Regions from separate parts of the Homo sapiens genome. Here regions 2, 3 and 4 are each linked to region 1. The links are contacts of gene promoters, found by promoter capture Hi-C in human tissues and cell types (Jung and others, 2019). All regions are on one chromosome and are shown on one strand. Each heading gives the region's core, a stretch centred on a gene start or on the middle of the fragment in contact. The rest is flanking DNA. Distances are from core to core; before and after follow the strand shown.

What was found. Contacts are between HindIII fragments. The study calls those that stand out against the background at their distance.
Region 2: a contact is called between the fragment with the promoter of FAM118A here and the fragment with the promoter of FBLN1 in region 1, in 2 of the 25 tissues and cell types used here (IMR-90 fibroblasts and mesendoderm cells).
Region 3: a contact is called between a fragment that was not itself captured here and the fragment with the promoter of FBLN1 in region 1, in 1 of the 25 tissues and cell types used here (mesendoderm cells).
Region 4: a contact is called between a fragment that was not itself captured here and the fragment with the promoter of FBLN1 in region 1, in 2 of the 25 tissues and cell types used here (dorsolateral prefrontal cortex and pancreas).

What each region holds. Positions count from the first base shown.
Region 1 is chr22:45,500,833-45,504,438 of GRCh38, forward strand. It overlaps FBLN1 (fibulin 1), which reads left to right and starts at 2,051. Exons shown (of 17, transcript NM_006486.3): 1 at 2,051-2,232. The coding sequence starts at 2,154. LOC105373066 (a long non-coding RNA gene) reads right to left here and starts at 155. Exons shown (of 3, transcript XR_938305.2): 1 at 1-155. RefSeq lists enhancers at 2,665-3,278, 3,279-3,606. The HindIII fragment of the contact is 10,534 bases long and covers 1-3,606 here.
Region 2 is chr22:45,307,882-45,311,487 of GRCh38, forward strand. It overlaps FAM118A (family with sequence similarity 118 member A), which reads left to right and starts at 2,053. Exons shown (of 9, transcript NM_017911.4): 1 at 2,053-2,302. RefSeq lists a silencer at 1,719-2,398 and an enhancer at 3,115-3,606. The HindIII fragment of the contact is 15,582 bases long and covers 1-3,606 here.
Region 3 is chr22:45,326,076-45,329,681 of GRCh38, forward strand. FAM118A (family with sequence similarity 118 member A) reads left to right here. Exons shown (of 9, transcript NM_017911.4): 4 at 1,767-1,988. Among named protein-coding and RNA genes, the nearest start is that of FAM118A, 18 kb to the left of the region's middle. The HindIII fragment of the contact is 9,189 bases long and covers 1-3,606 here.
Region 4 is chr22:45,642,644-45,646,249 of GRCh38, forward strand. The region is part of intron 1 of LOC105373069 (a long non-coding RNA gene); the gene reads left to right. Among named protein-coding and RNA genes, the nearest start is that of ATXN10, 27 kb to the right of the region's middle. RefSeq lists silencers at 3,025-3,314, 3,325-3,394. The HindIII fragment of the contact is 8,115 bases long and covers 1-3,606 here.

The DNA.
Region 1 (3,606 bases), core at 801-3,300:
GGCCTCCTTAACCTCAGAGGCGTGAGCATGCTGGTCCCCTTGGTAAGCTTTCCTGGGCTCTCTGCAAACTTCAAACTTATAAGACACCCTGTGGGGAGATGAGTTCTTGTCCTTTTGTTTTTCATTTTAAAATTTAACATGTGACCGGGCACGGTGACTCACGCCTGTAATCTCAGCACTTTGGGAGGACAAGGCGGGTGGATCACCTGATGTCGGGAGTTCAAGACCAGCCTGACCAACACGGAGAAACCCCGTCTCTACTAAAAATACAAAATTTGCCAGGCGTGGTGGTGCATGCCTGTAGTCCCAGCTACTCAGGAGGCTGAGGCAGGAGAATCGCTTGAACCCGGGAGGTGGAGGTTGCAGTGGGCTGAGATTGCGCCACTGCACTCCAGCCTGGGCAACAAAAGCAAAACACCATCTCAAAAAAACAGAAAGAAACAACATGTATTCAGAAAAGGGCACGTACCATAAATGAACAGCTCAATAAATTCTCACAAACTGAGCCCAACCTTGTAACCAATACCCAGAGTAAGAAAGCTGAACCTAACCAGCCCCCGAAAGCCCAGCACGCTCCCACTCCAGGATCACCACTCTCCTGACCTCTGAACTGTTCTTGCCTTTTTTTTTTTTTTTTTTTTTTTTTGAGACGGAGTCTCACTCCGCCGCCCAGGCTGGAGTGCAGTGGTGAGATCTCGGCTCACTGCAACCTCCGTCTCCCGGGTTCAGGCGATTCTCCTGCCTCAGCCTCCCGAGTAGCTGGGACTACAGGTGTGCACCACCATGCCTGGCTAATTTATTTTTATTTTTATTTTTAGTAGAGACAGGGTTTCACCATGTTGGCCAGGCTGGTTTCGAACTCCTGACCTCAGGCAATCCGCCCACTTCATCCTCCCAAAGTGCTGGGATTACAGGTGTGAGCCACCGCCACCGGCCTGTTCTTGCCTTTTATGTAAATGGAATCATGCAGCGAGTGTTCCTTTGTGGCTGACTCTATTACTCTGACTTACGTCTGTGAGATTTACCCGTTATGTGAGTTGCGGATCATTCACTCCTGTTCCGTTTGTCGTGCTCCTAAGCCCGAATACTCCACGATATTCATCTGCCTTGATGACGCTAGGCTTCCCAATTGGAGGAATTATGAATGTGCGGCTACATGTCTTTCTGTCTTTTGGAGCACATGTTGTATGCGTTTCTGCTGAGTGTAAGGCTGGGCGGGGCGTCGGTGGCTCAAGGGGTCCATGGTGAACTCACAGGAACACCGCTTTGAGCTGCCCAGTGGCGTTCCTATGCGTCTCATCCAGTTCCTCCGCATCTTCACCTGCACCATTTTATTCTTCTTCTTTGGAAAATAAATCTACTTGTGGTTCCAAAGCCTAACTCATCCTCAGTAACCCCGGTAGCTATGAATTCCTATACAAGAGGCTCCCGCAGGCCCAGCGCCAAAGCTGCCTCCCCTGCAGCCTCGGTGACTTCCCGGGTCTCTCCCTCCGGCCCTGGTGTCCCGGGTGAGCCCAGCACACGTTGGGATTTTGGTTGTTTGTTGGCCTGGCCCGACTGTCCCTGTCTCTGAGGGCAGAGTCGGGTCCCATCCCGGGACACGCCTGGGGTTAGCCACCGACCTGCAGCCTCCCGGCCGAGGGTGCGGGGTTGGCGGTAAGGCCTGCCCCAGTGCCCCCCAGCAGCCGGGCCTCCGACTGCAGGCCCGGGTCCCCGCTCCTCCGCGCGGAGTCGGGCGGGGATAACCTTTGATCCCGAGCCCTCCCCTCGAGAGGGGGTGGGGGGAGGAGGGGATCGGGTTTCACGGAGTGTTGGGGGATAGGACTGGGGGCATCCGGCCCGAAGGCGCCCCCTCTGTGCCCCCTCCGGGGAAGTCTGGGATCCAGGCCCTCGCCCCCAGCCGTGGGCGCGCGCCCCTCGCAGCCGGGGTCCGGGGAGGGAGGGTCCCGGCAGGGGGCGCCGGGGAGGGAGGACCAGGAGACCCGCGGCCCCGCCTCCGCCGCGCCCTCCTCCCGGGCGGGATAATTGAACGGCGCGGCCCTGGCCCAGCGTTGGCTGCCGAGGCTCGGCCGGAGCGTGGAGCCCGCGCCGCTGCCCCAGGACCGCGCCCGCGCCTTTGTCCGCCGCCGCCCACCGCCCGTCGCCCGCCGCCCATGGAGCGCGCCGCGCCGTCGCGCCGGGTCCCGCTTCCGCTGCTGCTGCTCGGCGGCCTTGCGCTGCTGGCGGCCGGAGGTAGGGGCGTCCCGGGTCCGCCGCCCCAGCTTAGGGTCCCGACCCCCTCGGCCTCGCGCTCCCTGCGAGTTTCGGAACCACGGGGACTCGGAGTCCGTGCGTTGCCCTGCGCGGCGCCCCCGGACTGTCAGCGCCGAGGCCTCGGCGACGCCCCCCTCCCCCACGGCCAGCTCCGGTCCTCATCTCCTCCCCGGCCTGGGGACTTGTTTCAAAACCGGATTCCCCCACCCCTCAAACACACCGTCCTACCCCAGTCCTAGCAAATCCAGCCGGCTCCGGGGGCCGCATCCCGGGCCCTGGGGGTTCAGGGGCGCTAGCTGGGCTGGGGGACGCTGGCTGGGGGTTACCGAGCCCAGGGCGCCTTGCACTTGACGCTGGAAGCGCCCTCGGCTATCTTTCCTCACCGCTTCCCGCCTCCACCCCCAGGTAGGAGCTGTTGTACCCAGCTTGCGGATGTGAAACTTGAGCCTGGAGGGTGGGAAGCAGTCTTTTCCCCAGGAGACACTAGCGGTCCTGGGATAGGGGCTGGAGAGGAAGAAATGAGAAAGCCAGGGAGCAGCCTGGAGGTTTTTGGGGCGTAGCTGGGAGGATGGAGGGGATGCGGACCTGGCCACCTCCTCCCTGCCTCCCTCCCGGGACAGAGGGCCCAAGGCAGTGGTTCTGCCGGGCTCGGTGCTCAGCGGGGACTGGGGACTGGTCACTTCCACCAACGGCAAGGGGGATGGAGTTTTCCAAGAGCAGATCTGATCGATGGCCCAGACCTTAGGCCCCAACTCTGGGACTGACAGCTCCGGGACAGTGCCCACCCAGCCCGCGCTTTTCTCCCCTCTAACCCTCAAGGCCTGGTCCCTGGGGGGACTGCCACGAGGTCCTCTGATCAGAGCAGCTGCTGGGCGGCAGAGCTATGACCTGTGACCTCTCTGCTGACCCGTGGCTTCTCAGAGCCACTAGCCAGGCCCGGCACTCCTGGCGTCTTTGTTTCTCCAGTGGCCCAGGTCCAGGGGAGTGCCCTAGACCACCCTCAGAATCCGAGTCTTAATCCCTGGTTTAGTTGAGTTCCTTTTAACCTCTGGTGACCGCCTTTGTTAGTCAAAAGGTCGCTTGTCCCAACTAATGCTCACTGGGGGATTCCAGGAAGGGGGCTGAAGGGGGCTGGAGGGGGAGGGGAGGCTGGGAGCTGAGCTCTACAGAGCTTTCTTGACTGGCTGGCTGCAGCAGAGCCCTGTGGAGCTCTGATTGTTCAGGCGGTGCTGGGCACGGCCTGGGCACCTCGTGGGGTTGGAGATGGTGTGGGGAGGCGCAGAGCTCAGTGTTGGCACCAGGAGCCTTCGCAGCCCCTGGGGGCTCCCTGGAGGCTCTTTAGAAGAGATGGAG
Region 2 (3,606 bases), core at 803-3,302, 190 kb before region 1:
TGTCCTTGCTCTTGTAAGGCTGACTGGCTGAGTTTTTGGGTGGAGGGGCTGAGGCTCCCAGCCTATCTCAGATGGTGCTGAATGTGGCTGGAGGTTACGATTGCTTTGGTCCCACCACCCCTCAGAGGATGCCCTGCGCAGAGTCTTGGGTCTGACTGACCTCGGCAGCACCCAGCCCATAAGGTCCTGTTAATCAAAATCCTTGCTGGGGCCTGGGAGCTCCATGAGGGAAGGGGCCACATCTCCCACAGGTCTCGGGCTTCAGCACCCAGTACAGGAGCAGGTGTTCATGAACTGAATTATATATCTTTTGCATTAAAAAAAATTTTTTTTGAGACAGAGTCTCGCTCTGTTGCCCGGGCTGGAGTGAAGTGGCATGATCTCAGCTCACTGCTGCCTCTGCCACCCGGGTTCAAGTGATTCTCCTGCCTCAGCCTCCCGAGTAGCTGGGATTACAGGTGTCCGCCACCACGCCCGGCTAATTTTTGTATTTTCAGTAGAGATGAGGTTTTGCCAGGTTGCCCAGGCTGGTCTGGAACTGCTGACTTCAGGTGATCCACCTGCCTCAGCCTCCCAAAGTGCTGAGATTACAGGCGTGAGCCACCGGCCTTTTTTTGCATTTAAGTCGCACCTCCAGGGGTTGGGGAGCTGTATGCAGTGGTGGTTACATGTGTGGGCTGAGGCATGGAACTACACAACCTCTTGGGCCTGAGCTTCCCCTTGTTAAACTGGAATAACAATGAAGACGCCTTCCTCATAGGGTTGTTCCAAGAACACCATGAAGGAACGCATGCAAAGTGCTCAGGGAGTGCCTGACCCCACATACAGAGCACCCAGGGGCTGCCCTCTTCATCCCAGAGTCACTGCTCCCACTGTTTTCTGGGCTCTGGCCCCCCCTAAAATTTCACAGGCCGCTAACACAACACTACCTTCTGTCACAAAATGAGAGCTTTCTGGTGGGCTAGGGTAGGGGGAGATATTAACAGCCAACTTTAAAATCAGGCAGGAAAAAAAGGTGCCAAGGAGACAGGAAGTAATAAATGACTCCAGGTTGGGCAGGGCAGGCTGGGAAGAGGAAGTGGATTGGGTCTTGTTTAGGTAAAAGACTTCAGTGGCAGACAAAGGAGGAGTAATAAGATCGCTAGGGGGCCCGTGCCCAGCCCACCCACGCACAATCTCAGTCCTCGCAATACCCACAAGGTAGGTGCTAGGATCACACCCTTTACGGACGCGGCACCTGCGACAGGGATGCGCGAGGAGTCAGGGGGCCTCGCCGGATCGAACCTAAGCTGGGGAAGAGTATTTCTTGTATTTTTAGGAGAAATTCTCAGCCTCGGGGAAGAGTATTTCTTGATGAGGGAAGAGCGCGGGGAAGACACTCACGCACGCACAAACATGTGGGCGGCCATGGTGTGCCCAGCGCCGTGCTGGCTTCTGGGAACCCCCAGTGGACAAGACGGACAAGGTACCGGCTCTCAGGGGAAGTGGGAGCCAGTCACAAGCGTACCTAATTTCGGAGAGTGACAAGTACTCTGAAAAAGAAAGAAGGTAGGGCTGGTGACTGGCCAATTTAAGCGGGCAGGAGTCTGCTGGGGGACGGAGACCAGCCTCAGGTCTGGGTTGGGGACAGAAGCTGTGCCTAAGTGTGGTGCAGGATGCAGTTGCAAAGGAGCGCTTCCGATCGCACTTGATGCTCGCCACGTCCCTGCAAAGTGCTCCCGCCCCCTTTCTGCAAATGAGGAAACGGGACGCGCGGCTCGCCGGGCCAGGTAGGGCTAGGACGCGGACTCTAGGCCCAAGCGCTCCCCAGCGCAAGCCCTCCCCCGCACATCCGACCGCGCCTGCGCTGGAGACCCCGGGGGCGTGGCCTCCCCGGTGGGCGGGACCGTGGTCACCGAGGTGGGCGGTGCCAGAGGATCTGGCGGCGGGGCGGGGCGGGGCGCGCGTCCTGGCTTCGCCCTTCCCCGGGGCGGGGCCTCCGGGGACCGCGGGGCCGTTGGTTTCGGGACGGAACGTTCACGCGGCTGGGGCGGGCGCGCGGGGGAAGGGTTTGCGGCGGCGCCGCTGCCGGCTAACGCGGAGGGGCGCCTGGAGGCGGCGTGGCGTCCGCTCTGGCTCCGACTCCGGCTCTCGCTCTCGCTTCTAGCCCGCGTGCCTGCGCAGTCCCCTCCCCGAGAACCATCCCCTTGCCCCGCCCAGCGTCAGGGGTGCGCGGCCGCCGAGAGACCCCGGAGGCGTAGCCGGCTGCGGAGGCGAAGAGGTGGCAGCGCGAGCTGGGACCAGCGTCTCGGAGGCGCCGCAGGTGAGGGGGCGGGGCGGGCCCGCGGTCCCTGCATCCGGAGCCCCTGGGGACCCCGAGATCCTCAGGATCCGCCCCGGCCCCGGGGCCACCCCAGGACTCCCTCTCAGCTCTTCCCCTGGAGCCCCTGCCCCCGAGACCCCCTCAGGATCCGCCCTGCCCCTCCAGGCCCGCGAACCCCGAAACTCCAAGATTTTCTCTGGACTCCGAGACCCCCTGAGGACCCCGGCCGCTAGTGGGCCCTGAGAACTGTTGGTTCCGGAAACTCTCGAGGTTCCCTTGGGACTTGCTTCCAGCAACCTCCTCAGAAGCCCCCAGGCCCGGGGCATCTTCCTGTGGGGAGCCGTGGTTCCCAGTGTCCTTAGCCCCGCGAGACCCCGGGTCCCCGTGCCGCCCACCCTGAGGCTCCCTCTCCGACCTGATCTCAGGGCTAGGTTTCTCCAACTTGAGGTCCCTGGACCTGCGGGGCGTGGGTGGAAGTGTTCCCAGGTCTGGTGATAACTTAAGACGGTAACAGCGCGCCCGACGACCACCTCCTAAGCTGTGGTCCCCGCGCCTGCAGGTGCAGGGCCGGGTTTAAGTTTTAATGTTCTGCTGAGACTCAGGTGGCCCCACAGGACAGTCTATAGAGCAGGAGACCTGAGGTGGCCGAGGGCGGCCGAACCGGGGAGGGAGCGAGTTAGGGCACATGGGGACGCTTTTAGGTTGTCTCCTCCTTAATTTTTTCATTCAAGGAACTAACATTTTGTTTTTGAATGCCTGATAGGCTCCAGGAATTGACACTGGAAATAGAGATGAGACGGTCCCTGCTGTCAGGGCCTAGGGACCTGGGGCATAAGACAAGTAGGTCGTTTTTATCTGGAGGAAGCTGTGTCGTCGCTGGCAGGGAACCCATCTGGGTGGGCATGGGATTCTGGGAAGGGGTGGGTGTTAAGGAGGGCGTCTTAGGAGTCGTGGGGAGGAGATGCTAAGCAGCAGGTGAGCTGATTCTTGAAGGTTGAGCTAGAGGAGAAGTTTGCCAGGGTCATTCCAGGCAGAGTTTCAGGGGACAGCCAGTATGTCAAAAGGCAGAGAGGCTGCCACGGCACACAGTGTTGGAAGGCGGGAGGTGTGGCTGGAGCACACCTAATGAAGGTGGCGTGGGAGTGAATGCTAACTGCGGAGAACCCAGCTTTGCTCCCGGAGGCCCACCGTGCCCTTGGCCCTTTCTTGAACGACTGCACCTGCCATTGTCCTGAGAAATGATCCAGCTGAGCTGAAGGAAGGTGGGAGGTGGTCAGGGGGAGAAGTGAGGGAAGTGTCTCGCT
Region 3 (3,606 bases), core at 797-3,296, 170 kb before region 1:
AGGGCGAGGGGAGGTATTTTGATACCCAGGTGCCGAGGCAGAGGGTGACAATGAGGCTGGGAGCCGGGCAGAGGGGACCCTGTGTCCTCCTGAACCCGCCCCCACCCCGCCTCTCTGTCCCCTCCCAGCAAAGCTCTGCAGCATGGTTGCTGCATCTGCTGTCACCAGCCCTTCCTTTTTCTCTTGAAGCCATCCCAGCCAGGCTTTGGCTGTCAAGGCCCCTTGGAGACAGCTCCTGTCAAGGCCACCGGTGAAACACTGAGGCTGCTTCCGGAGGCCAGGCCTCAGTCCTGATCCTCTTGTGTCTCTCAGAGTATATGCGGCACTACGGGCCAGGTGTGCTGGCTCATGCCTGTAATCCCAGCACTTTGGGAGGCCAAGGTGGGCAGATCACTTGAGGGCAGGAGTTCAAGATAAGCCTGGGCAACATAGCGAGACCTCGTCTCTACAAAAAATAAAAAAAAATTTAGGCCGGGTATAGTGGCTCACGCCTGTAATCCCAGCACTTTGGGAGGCTGAGGCAGGTGGATCACCTGAGGTCAGGAGTTTGAGACCAGCCTGGCCAACATGGTGAAACCCCATCTCTACTAAAAATACAAAAATTAGCTGGGTGTGGTGGTGCGCACCTGTAGTCCCAGCAACTTGGGAGGCTGAGGCAGGAGAATTGCTTGAACCAGGAGGGGAGGTTGCAGTGAGCCAAGATCACGCCACTGCATTTCATCCTGGGTGACAGAGCAAGACTCTGTCTCAAAAAAAAAAAAAAAAAAAAAAAGTTAAAAAATTAACTAGGTGTTATGGTGTGTGTGCACCTATAGTCCCAGCTACTTGGGAGGCTGAGGTTGGAGGATCACTTGAGCCTGGGAGATCAAGGCTGCAGAGGGCCGTGATCGTGCCACTCACTGCACTCCAGCCTGGGTGACAGAGTGAGACTCTGTCTCAAAAAATAAAATAATAAAATGAAAAATGAAATAAAATAATATAAAAAATTAAATTAAAAAAATTTTTAAAAAATATAATGAGTTGGGTGTGGTGGTGGCACCTGTAGCCCTAGCTACTTGGGAGGCTTAGGTGGCAAGCTCGCTTGGGCCCAGGAGTTGGAGGCTGCAGTGAGCTATCCTGGCACCACTGTGCTCCAGCCTGGATGACAGAGCAAGGCCCTATCTCAAAAAAAGAAAAAGAAAAAAGAAACACTGCCTCCCGCCTCATTGAAGGTGCCACGAAGACACGCTGTTTCATTACCACCGAGAAAGAGAAAACTGGGACTGTGCAGCGCTCAGGGAAAGCCAGAGTCTTTACAGTGGTCCTCAAGGCCCAGGTCATCTGCTTCTGCTGCCGACTCTTCCCCTCACTCCTCTCCTGCCTCCGTGGCCTCTTGCTGACCTGGGACGTACCTGAGCCGTGACCTCAGTGCTGTGGCCCTTGCTCTTCCCTCTGCTTAGAACATTCTCCACGAGCCCTCACCTCCTCAGGCCCCTGTTCAGATGCCCTCTTCTCAGAGAGGCTTGCCTAGTGTCTTGGTCCTGTCCACCTCCCCTGACAGCGCCTGCCCCCGTCTCTGCCGTGCTTTCCTGTGGCAGCGTCACCGGTGGCGTGCTACACGTGAGCATCCCCTGTCCCCCTGCTCTGGGGTTGCGGCGCACGCTGTGAAGCCAGATTTTCTTTGTTTTCAGCCGCTGTATCTCTGGCACCCAGAAAATGGCCTGCTTAGGTGCTCAGTAGTTGTTAAGAGCTGATGTTTTGGTAACTGTCGTTCCACCTTTTTGTAGCGCACAGGCGATGCCAAGCCCAGCTTCTTCCAGGACTGCCTGATGGAGGTGTTTGACGACCTGGAGCAGCACATCCGGAGTCCTGTGGTGCTGCAGTCGATCCTCAGCCTGATGGACAGGGGCGCCATGGTCCTGACCACCAACTATGACAACCTGCTGGAGGCCTTTGGCCGGCGGCAGAACAAGCCCATGGAGTCCCTGGACTTGAAGGACAAGACCAAGGTATGGGCTGGGGGTGCGGGAGGCCTTTGGCCGGCGGCAGAACAAGCCCATGGAGTCCCTGGACTTGAAGGACAAGACCAAGGTATGGGCTGGGGGTGCGGGAGGTCTTTGGCCGGCGGCAGAACAAGCCCATGGAGTCCCTGGACTTGAAGGACAAGACCAAGGTATGGGCTGGGGGTGCGGGAGGTCTTTGGCCGGCGGCAGAACAAGCCCATGGAGTCCCTGGACTTGAAGGACAAGACCAAGGTATGGGCTGGGGGTGCGGGAGGCCTTTGGCCGGCGGCAGAACAAGCCCATGGAGTCCCTGGACTTGAAGGACAAGACCAAGGTGTGGGCTGGGGCTGCGGGCAGCCTGCAGGTGTGGGGAGTTCTGTGCCCTGGGAGCTGCTCTCACTTTGTAGCAGTGAATTACTAATAAAGTAGCCAGGCATGGTGGCGCCTGCCTGCAGTCCCCGCTACTGGGGAGGCCGAGGTGGGAGGATTGCTTGAGCCCAGGAGTTCCAGACTGAAATGAGCTATGATCATGCCACTTATTCCAGCCTGGGTGACAGAGTAAGACCCTTTCTCTTAAAAAAAAAAAAGTAATAATGGAAAGTGGCACACTGGCAACTTGGGAGGCTGAGGCAGGAGAATAGCTGGAACTGGGAGGGAGATGGTTGCAGTGAGCTGAGATCACTGTACTCCAGCCTGGGCAAGAGAGTGAGACCCTGTCTCAAAAAACAAAAGAAAAAAAAAAAGAAATACCTGAGACTGGGTAATATATAAAGAAAAGAGCTGTAATTGGCTCACGGTTCCACAGCTGTCTAGGAAGCATAGCAGCATCTGCTTCCGGGGAGGCCTCAGGAAGTTTCCAATAGTGGCAGAAGGCAGAGTGGGAGCAGGCATGCCACATGGCAACAGAGAGAGTGGCAGGGGGGTGGTGCCACATGCTTTTAAATGACCAGATTTCTCAAGAAGTCACTGTCACGAAGATGGCACGAAGCCATGAGGGATGATCCTGCCCCGTGATCCAAGCACCTCCCACCAGGCCCCACCTCCAGCACTGGGGATCACAGTTCAGCATGAGATTTTCGTGGGGACAAATGTCCAGACTATATCAGTTAGCATATATTTACAGTTATAAATAACACTACAGGGTCCTCATACTTTTATGTCCTGTTTTCAAGATGAATTCCTAGAAGAGTTTTATGGTCAAAAGGTATGAATGTTTTAAAGACTGATGATGTAAATTACCAAATTGTTTTCCAGAAGGAGCACCAGTTACACTCCCGGTAGTGGCTGAGTGTGGGAGTATCCATTTCCTGTATCTTGCCAACACATGGTGTTATTAAGAAACAAAATGAAATACACCTTGTCCATTTGATAGCTGAAATTTTCAACATTGATTTCTTGTGTTACTAAAGGTTGAGCGTAGTTTCATGTGACTCTTGATATTTCTTTTGTGACATACTTGTGACCTTTGTGTGTCTGCTTATGTTATTCATAACTAACACTGCTGCCTGTGTTGTCTGGGCTGCCTTGTGAGGTAAGGCCCTGGCCCCGCTCTGTGTACAAAGAGACTGAATTACGGGGCACGGGGCAGTGTACACGGGGGCAGGGCCGCCTGAGGGGAGCGGGC
Region 4 (3,606 bases), core at 357-2,856, 140 kb after region 1:
CCCAGGAATGAAGACCCAGCCCAGAAACAGGAGGTCTGCTCAGTATCTTGACCCCATATAAAAATATGCTCCTCAAAAGTTTTCATTAGCATATAAACAGATATGCATCAATCAATCTGCAGCATGGCCACGTCAGCTTTATTTCATTATGTTTTAATGATATTTTAAGCAGCCAAACTCTTAGAATTCAGGACAGGGCAAGAGTAACCCACAATTTACTTTAGAATTTTATGTTTTAAAGGAAAGATCTAAGGGTCTGATGAAAGGAGTTGTATTTCCTCGGATCTTTTCTTCCACTTTATAAAATAAAAACCATTTTTGTTGCTTCTTAAGTACTCTGGTATTTACAAATGCAGAATATGTCAGATATTAGAGATCAACCCACACCTTCAGCCAAGTTTCCTCAGAGATCCTTTGTAAAAAAAAAAACCACACACACAAAAAGTGGGTGAAACCGTCTGACTTCTTAGAAGTCTGAGTTAAAAGTTGCAAACTCATTTTGCCCAAGATAACCAGAAATGCTCTAAGCTAAGTGGGCAGAAACAGATTTGATCTCTGTATCTGATTGCTGGCAGAAGTCAAGCAGCCAATTTTTCAACAATGTCTCCATATCATGAAACTTCCTAAAAATCTTCAAGGGAGTAACCTGAGCTTGTGAAAAATGATCCCGAATGTCAATAGGACAAAGCTTCCCTTCCAAGATATAATTAGGGGAGCTTGGAGCAGGCCTTTCATATTTGAGTTGACAAGCATCTTTTTTCCTTTGTTCAGTCTGTTCTGGAGGGCTTTAGGAGGGCTTCGCCATTTCTTTGTTAAGAGGAATGGTTGAAACAAAATTTGTATAAGAGGAATCATTTAAAATTGAATCCATCCAATAGGAATGTTTATTTTACCCAACGTTTTTCTGTGTGAGAATAATACCTGTTTTTTCTAGGTAATATATGTCTTTTATTTAATCACATGCATATTTAAGCCTCTAAGTTCTCTGTTCAAAACACTGATTTTTTTTTTTTTTTTTTTTTTTTTTTTTGAGACAGGTCTCGCTCTGTCGCCCAGGCTGGAGTGCAGTGGCGCTATCATGACTCACTGCGACCTTGACCTCCCAGGCTCAAGCGATCCTCCCACCTTAGCCGCCCAAGTAGCTGGGACTACAGGTGTACATCACCATGCCCAGCTAATTTTTCATAGAGATGGGGTTTCACCATGTTGTGCAAGCTGCTCTTGAACTCCTGGGCTCAAGCAATCTGCCCACCTTGGCCTCCTAAAATGTTAGGATTCCAGGCATGAGCCACCGCACCTGGCCCGTAACACTGATTAAAGACATACAGATCGGCCGGGCGCGGTGGCTCACGCCTGTAATCCCAGCACTTTGGGAGGCCGAGGAGGGGGCAGATCACGAGGTCAGGAGTTTGAGACCAGCCTGGCCAGCATGGTGAAACCTTGTCTCTACTAAAAATACAAAAAATTAGCCAGGCATGGAGGGATGCGCCTGTAATCCTAGCTACTCGGGAGGCTGAGGCAGGAGAATCACTTGAACCTGGGAAGCAAAGGTTGCAGTGAGCTGAGATCCCGCCACTGCACTCTAGCCTGGGTGACAGAGTGAGACTCCATCTCGGAAAAAAAAAAAAAAGATATACTGATCATATGAGCAAAGCATTGCTAAGAAGGCTGATGTAATTGTTAGGCTCCACTGAGAGACGCCTGGTGTCTAGAACTTACGATGTCCAGGCTGGTGGGAGCTGGCCTGGAGTTGGTACCCCGTGGCGATAGAAACATGAATGCATGAAGAGTATCTACAGAAGGGACCAGAACCTTGAGAAGACTCAGAACTCTCAAGCAGAGGCCGGTTGCGATGGCTCAAGCCTGTAATCCCAGCGCTTTGGGAGGCCGAGGTGGGCAGATCACTTGAGCCCAGGAGTTCGAGACCAGCCTGGCCAACATGGTGAAACCCCCACTCTACTAAAAATACAAAAATTAGCCGGGGGTGGTGGCGCATGCCCGTAATCCCAGCTGCTCGGGAGGCCGAGACAGGAGAATTGCCTGAACCTGGGAGGCACAGGTTGCAGTGAGCTGAGATTGCACCACTGCACTCCGGCCTGGGTGATAGAGCGAGATTCCGTCTCAAAAACAAACAAAAAAACCAAAAAAACCTCAGAACTCTCAAGCAGGACTTCTCAACCTCAGCACTGTTGACTTTTGGGTGGGACAATTCTTTGTTGTGCGTGTGGCGGGATGGAGGTGCTACGCCATGTACCTTAGGATGCTTAGCAGCACGGGGGCCTCTCCCCACCAGACGCCAGGAGTGGTCTCCCTCCTCCGGGTAGATCACCAAAAGTTCTCCAGACATTGCCAAATGTCCCCTGCAGGGCAAAATCGTCCTCGGTTGAAATTGTCCACTGCTCTAAAGAATGCAGGAAGTTGGGCACACTTAGCTCGGAATGAATATTTACAGGGAACATTAAAGCTGTTTGTAGGCATCGTACGAAAAAAGTTATTCTGATTGTTTCAGAAGGCTGAGCAAGAACAAACGGGGCAAACCTGTATTTTGACTAAGGAACAAGGAGACCTTTCTAGAAGAACCGCTCAGCTCCCAGTCCCCAAAGTGTGTATGTTTAGACCGGGCGAGGATCCTGAATCAAGGTCCGGGCCTCTTTCCTCGGAAGAACAGACCGACCGATGGTCTTCTGGGCACCCAGAGGAGCAGTCAAGCGCGGTGCTTGCTGAGAGCTTGGCCTCCGTGGGTGCCATTTAATCTGCGGTTGGGAGAGGTATTCAGAGCTTTGCAGATGGGCCTCTGCCGTTCCTCAGGGCCCACTCCAGTGCCCAGGGAGGGTGGGCAGAGCAGCGGAGGCAGGGGGCTTGCGGTGGGGCTGGGGCCGGCAGAGGAACAAACGGACTCACAGGACGTGCGGCAGGCAGGAGAGCCCTCTCCCGACCTGACCGTCACGGAAGCCTCTCAGCCGGTGTCTGAGCTGGGACTGGGACCCAGAGTCCTCAGTCAGGCTCTTCCCTCCGAGGTGGGGAGGCGAGCCCGGGGATCCGCACCTGCCCAGGTGGACTCCGCTGCTGCGTGGCGCCTGCCCTGGGACCCACGTGCGGCTAGGCGGCACCTCCCCGGGCGCCCAGCAGGTGGCGGTGCGCGGCCTCGAATGGCGGCTGGCAGGGCCGGGACGCGGCGGCTCCTCGCCGGGCGCGTTTCCTCCTCCAGCACTGTCTCACCCTGCTCCATGCTAACCTGCTGAACGGCCCCTGGCCTCTTTCCGCCCCGCCCCCGCCTCCGCAATGCGCCCCCCTTCCCTTCTGCGGTCCCCTGCCTGTCGCCCTCTCACGCTCCAGGTTGTGAGCGAGTATCTCCCCACTTTAACACCCTACACCACACCGCGCCCGGCCACAAGACAGCTTTACAACATACACAACCCTGACGAGGAAACGTGTTCAAAACCAATCACTGCGCTCATCATAAAGGTAAAGAAAGCAAGGAGGTGTGTGTCCACGCACAGGGTAAATGTGGGCTGGGTGTGGGGTTCTAACTTGGAGAGGGCCTGAGGGCAGTGGCAACTCGCATTGCATTGGAGGGAGGCCTTGGCAGGGCCCACGGGGAGAGGC